Regions from separate parts of the Homo sapiens genome. Here region 2 is linked to region 1. Evidence: promoter capture Hi-C in 16 types of primary human blood cells and fetal thymus (Javierre and others, 2016). All regions are on one chromosome and are shown on one strand. Each heading gives the region's core, a stretch centred on a gene start or on the middle of the fragment in contact. The rest is flanking DNA. Distances are from core to core; before and after follow the strand shown.

The links. The method cuts DNA at HindIII sites, captures the fragments that hold promoters and counts their contacts. A CHiCAGO score of 5 or more calls a contact.
Region 2: the fragment with the promoter of KAT5 here is called in contact with a fragment that was not itself captured in region 1 in 15 of 17 cell types (naive CD8 T cells, endothelial precursors, erythroblasts and 12 more); the score reaches 10.8 in naive CD8 T cells.

Annotation. Positions count from the first base shown.
Region 1 is chr11:65,991,776-65,994,544 of GRCh38, reverse strand. No RefSeq gene overlaps it. Among named protein-coding and RNA genes, the nearest start is that of EIF1AD, 9.0 kb to the left of the region's middle. The HindIII fragment of the contact is 2,532 bases long and covers 78-2,609 here.
Region 2 is chr11:65,710,922-65,713,621 of GRCh38, reverse strand. It overlaps KAT5 (lysine acetyltransferase 5), which reads right to left and starts at 1,370. Exons shown (of 13, transcript NM_182710.3): 1 at 1,177-1,370; 2 at 788-856; 3 at 564-700; 4 at 119-274; 5 at 1-29. The coding sequence starts at 1,354. RefSeq lists silencers at 1,045-1,124, 1,135-1,324 and enhancers at 1,355-1,664, 1,695-1,814. The HindIII fragment of the contact is 6,423 bases long and covers 815-2,700 here.

The DNA of each region.
Region 1 (2,769 bases), core at 94-2,593:
GTCTAAAGTTTTCTATCCTTGAGTCAATTTTGATCATTTGTATCATTCCAGGATCATATTTCATATATATTTAAGCTTTTTGGGCAAAAGTTCATGCATAATATTTGTATTATTTGGAACTTTCTTTTTTTGTTTGTTTGTTTTTGTTTTGTTTTTGAGGCAGAGTTTCACTGTGTCGCCCAGGCTTGAGTGCAGTGGTGCAGTATCGGCTCACTGTAACCTCCACCTCCCGGGTTCAAGTGATTCTCCTGCCTCAGCCTCCCAAGTAGCTGGAATTACAGGCACCCGCCACCACACCCAGCTAATTTTTGTATTTTTAGTAGAGATGGGGTTTTGCCATGTTGACCAGGCTGGTCTCAAAGTCCTGACCTCAGGTGATTGGCCCCCCTCAGCCTCACAAAGTGCTGGGATTACAAGGGTGAGCCACTGCACCCAGTAATTTTTTTTTTTTTTTTGAGACAGCCTCTCACTCTGTTGCCCAGGCCATCATGGCGCCACTGCAGCCTTGACCTCCCAGGCCCAAGTGATTCTCCCACCTCAGCCTCCTGAGTAGCTGGAACCACATGTGCGCGCCACCACACCTGGCTAATTTTTTTTATTTTTAGTAGAGACAGGCTCTCCCTATGTTGCCCAGGCTAGTCTCGAACTCCCAGGCTCAAGTGATGCTCCTGCCCTGGCCTCTCAAAGTACTGGGATTACAGGTGAGAGCCACCATCCTGGCGTATGCGGGACTTTCTTATAAATGACAAAATTGAACTCAAATTAGGAGAAGTAAGCAAGGCTCATTGACCTGAGGTCTCTGAGTGGTGCGCATCGGGCAGGGATGAACCAATGCCAGCAGCATGAATTCCTCAGGCTCTCTCATTTATCTCTGTCATCTCTGCTCCCGGCTGATTAATTTCTTTCCCTCCTACAGATGTTTTCTGTAGAAAGCTCAAGTTTTTTTTTTTTTTTTTTTTTTGAGACGGAGTCTCGCTGTTGCCCAGGCTGGAGTGCAATGGCGCGATCTCGGCTCACTGCAGGCTCCGCCCCCCGGGGTTCACGCCATTCTCTTGCCTCAGCCTCCTGAGTAGCTGGGACTACAGGCGCCCGCCACCACGCCCGGCTAATTTTTTGTATTTTTAGTAGAGACAGGGTTTCACCGTGTTAGCCAGGATGGTCTCGATCTCCTGACCTCGTGATCCGCCTGCGTCGGCCTCCCAGAGTGCTGGGATTACAGGCATGAGCCACTGCGCCCAGCCAGGACGCTCAAGTTTATACACAGTCCTTGTAGACAGAGCCCCTTGGGGCTCTTGAGGATCCCTGTATTTCCGTGAAGGGCGATTGATCTTCCTCAGGTCACTTGCTGTGCTTGAGCAGTCACTGTGGCCAGGGCCGGGGGGTGGGAGGGTGTGGAGGACTGGGGTGGGGCAGGATGAGCCACAAGTAATTTTTATATGTTTCCCATGGAATAGAGAGGTTCTATTACCAGAAAAAGTGGGGCAAGGGGTGAGGGCAGGTGAAATCAACAAAATATGTTTATATTTTGTGTATTTTATTTGGCTAGCTTTGCAAGAGGTCTTCCTTACTGGACTTTTCCTTCGTTTCTTTGGGTTTATTTGCTCATTCTGGGTTCTTGAGATGTGTGCTTAGCTAATTTAATTTCAATTTGTTTTCTAATATATTCAGGGCTATATGTTTTCTTCTAAATAGTCCTTTGACTGTTCCCCACTTTGTGTGTGTGTGTTTTGGCGTTTTATCTGTAAACTTGGTCTTATGTTCTTCTCCATTCTCTCAGTGATACTGTGATCCACCTAGTAACATCTTTTTTTCCCCCTAAAACCTTTTCGTTTCCACTTCTTCATCTCTTACCAGCCATTCAGCTTCTGTGGGCTGTAGCTAAGGGTACTGATGGAGGTAGGGTCCTTGTATTCTGCATGCTACTTTCCTATGTCATTCTCTGAAGCTGGATTCCACCTCTGTTCTTCCAACTGAATGGTGGGATCCAACCATGTATGAATAGATCTCCCTGAGTGAGCTGAGATCTGATGTAAGAGCCCCTTGTCCCGATGTCATGGCCAGTCCCTGTGACTGGCTGCCTAATAGTACTTACTGGCTTCTCTTGCAGTTATGCTTGAGACTTTGTGGCCCTTCAGAATCTGTACCTCTGTCACTTCAGGACTAACCTCTACAGCCAGGTCATTTCCACCAGGGCTTCCCCGTGTGGCCCAGTGCGCTTTCCCCCCTTGCCACCCAGCCACCCCTGTGTGTGTGCCAGGGAGCACAGATGGCAGTCTGAGCTCACCACATGGTTTTCCTCTTCTAATCTGTAAATGTGGTGGAGTATCATAACATTCTCTCACGTTAAGATATCCTTGCATTCCTGGAAGAAGACAGTCACAATGGATTTGTTATTATACTGCCGGATTTGGTTCTCTGGTATTTTGGCATCCAGGTGTATAGGTGAAATGGTTTAAGGTTTTCCTTTTCCGTACTGCCCCCACCCTTTGTTTTGTATCAAGGTTATACCAGCTTCATATAAATAAGTTGGAAAGTGTTTTCCCTTTATTTTCATTACGAGAGTTTGTATAAGATTGGAATTTTGCATTTCTACAATTTTTGGTAAAGCTTGCTGTAAAACCAACCATGCCTGGCGATTTTTTGGGTGGGTGGGTAGGTAGGTTTGGAATTAGATTGTCAGTGGTAATAGATTACTCAGGTGTTCTGTTCTTCAGTCATATTTTCAAGGAAAAATATTTTCATGTTATTTATTTATTTATTTATTTTTGA
Region 2 (2,700 bases), core at 121-2,620, 280 kb after region 1:
GCTGGTGAAACCACCTCCACCTTCCGTTTCTGCAGAGAGAAACCAACAAAGGTGGGTCAGAAGGTAGAGAAGGTGGGACCTGAGAAGAAAGCAAGGTCCCTGGAATTGCTGAGGGTACCGTTGAGCGGTGGTTGGGCTGCAGGCAGGAGCTGGAGGAGAGCGGCTGGTCAGGCTCGCCACCGGGAATGGCCTCCCGCTCCTTGGGCAGGTTGAAGCGGAGTGTGATCTGGACCGGGATTGGCAAGGTCTTCCCGCTGGCCTGCGCCGAGGCCGGCTGTAGAGATAGGTCCAGGGTCTTCCTTTGGGGCGGGGATGGCAGTGGGATGGGGAAGGGGAAGAGGGGTCCCTCACCTCAAAATTATCAAACCCCACCCTCGCCTTCTGAAGGACACAGGACTAGCTACTGGACTCTGGGAGCTACATGTGCAATTTGGCCCCCATCCTTTGCAAGATGAAGTCAGGGTGAGAGGGAGCCGCCTCCTGCCCATCCAGGAGCTCCTAATGCCAACAGACAAGAGAAATAGGAGGCAGGAGAGAAAAGGTGAAGTGGGGGACCTACTCACCACCTCTCTCTCTGGAGAGCCAGGACGGGACCCAGGAAGTCCGTTCTTAGTGGGGGTCTTGGCCTCTTTCTTGGGGAACTGGATCTTCTTTAGGTCCAGCCGCTCATGCGTCACCCATTCATCCAGACGTTTGTTGACTGTAGCAGTGGGGATGGCTCAGGACAGAATGCCAAAGACTGTCCCCCAACCCTACCCTGATGCCCCACCTCAGGCCCAGAACTCACAGTCAATGTAATGGACGTAGAAAAGCTTCCGGCCACTGATGTCCTTCACGCTCAGGATCTCGGCCAGGGCTATGAGAATAGCATAGACAGGGGCCTTAGACAGGCCAGGCTATGAGACTCCACCCTTCCACGACCTGAACTCCACCCCCAGGCCGGATCCCTAAGCTCCAGCACTTAGGTCTCTCCTAAGCCTCCTTCAGTCACAAGTGCCACCCCTTTCCAGGCCCCGCCCTGTACCTCTCGGAGCAGCTAAGAGCCACGCCCCTTCATCAAAGTATCTGCGCCTCGCCCGCCCCATAATTCCAGACGCCCCTCCCCATCCCGGGATTTCAGTTGACTCCCGCCCCTCGCCCTCAGGTTCCTTAGTCCCGCCCCCCAACGTCACTCACGCCACTCATCTTCGTTGTCCTGGTTCCGCCGCAGCACGGGTAGGCGGCAGCCCTCGATTATCTCCCCCTGGGGAGACAGCGCGACGCCAGGGTCGGCTACTGGGGGGCCTCGGGCTCTACCCACCTCCCCTGGCTCCCTCCGCCCCGCCCCGGGCACCGGACTCACCACCTCCGCCATCTTCCCTCCCTCCACTGCCACTTCCGGCCCCTCTGGGAGACGTCACTTCCGGGACCGAGCGCCCTGTGGGCCCGGGCCTCACGAAGCCCCTGTAGAGGGGGACCTTTGAGAGACACCGCGACCCAGCTGCGAGGGGCAAGACTGCCCCTGTGACTCGGGGGAAAACGGAGTGTTACAAGCCTCAGGCCGAGCCCTAGGTGGAAACCCCATAACGTGCACAGCCAGTGGCGGTCTACTGAGTCCGTCACGTGACGCCCACCGGGTGCGAAGCTGGTCACGTGTATGCGGAGCGGGTCACGTGGCAATACCGTTTTTGGCTTTGTCGGAGGGAAGTCCTCGGGCGTCTCCTTGTGGCGGCGGGAGGTGTTGCCGGGAGTCAACTGGGCGCGAGAGGCTGGAGAAAGGAAGTGGCCTTAGAAGGGTTCGAACGCTCCCCCAAGTCTGTGGACTTCATTCCGTAGGCAAGAGGACTCAGGGAAGATTCCTAGCTTTATTTTGTATATTAGGCTTTTTTAATTTGTATATATTTATTTTTGAGACGGAGTCTCGCTCTGTCGCCAGGCTGGAGTGCAGTGGCGCGATCTCAGCTCCCTGTAACCCCCGCCTCCCGGGTTCAAGCGATTCTCCTGCCTCAGCCTCCCGAGTACCCAACTAATTTTTGTATTTTTAGTACGGGCGGGGTTTCACCATGTTGGCCAGGATGGTCTAGAGCTCTTGACCTCGTGATCCGCCCGCCTCGGCCTCACAAAGTACTGGGATTACAGGCGTGAGCCACCGCCCTCAGCCATATTAGGCTTTTTTTTTTTTTTTTTTTTTTTTTGAGACAAGGTCTGGCTCTCTCGCCCGGGCTGGAGTGCAGCCAGCGAGGCACAATCTCCGCTCACTGCAGCCTCCCCCTCCCGGGATCAAGTGATCCACCTCAGGCTCTCTAGTAGCTGGGACTACAGGCGCGCACCACCAAGCCTGGCTAGTTTTTTAAAATTTTTGTGTAAACAGGGTTTGGAGACTGGGCATGGTGGCTCACACCTGTAATCCCAGCTGCCTCCAGTCTAATCATGAGAAAAACATCAGACAAATCCCAATTGAGAAACATTTTACAAAATACCCCATGAATACTCCTCAAAACTGTGAAGGTGTCACCGGTGGAGGGTGTACAGGTTCTTGGCATCTAAAATAATGGGACAAAACGGCTGGGCGCGGTGGCTCACGCCTATAATCCCAGCACTTTGGGAGGCCGAGGCGGGCGGATCACGAGGTCAGGAGATTGAGACCATCCTGGCCAACACGGTGAAACCCTGTCTCTACTAAAAATAAATACAAAAAATTAGCTGGGCGTGGTGGCAGGC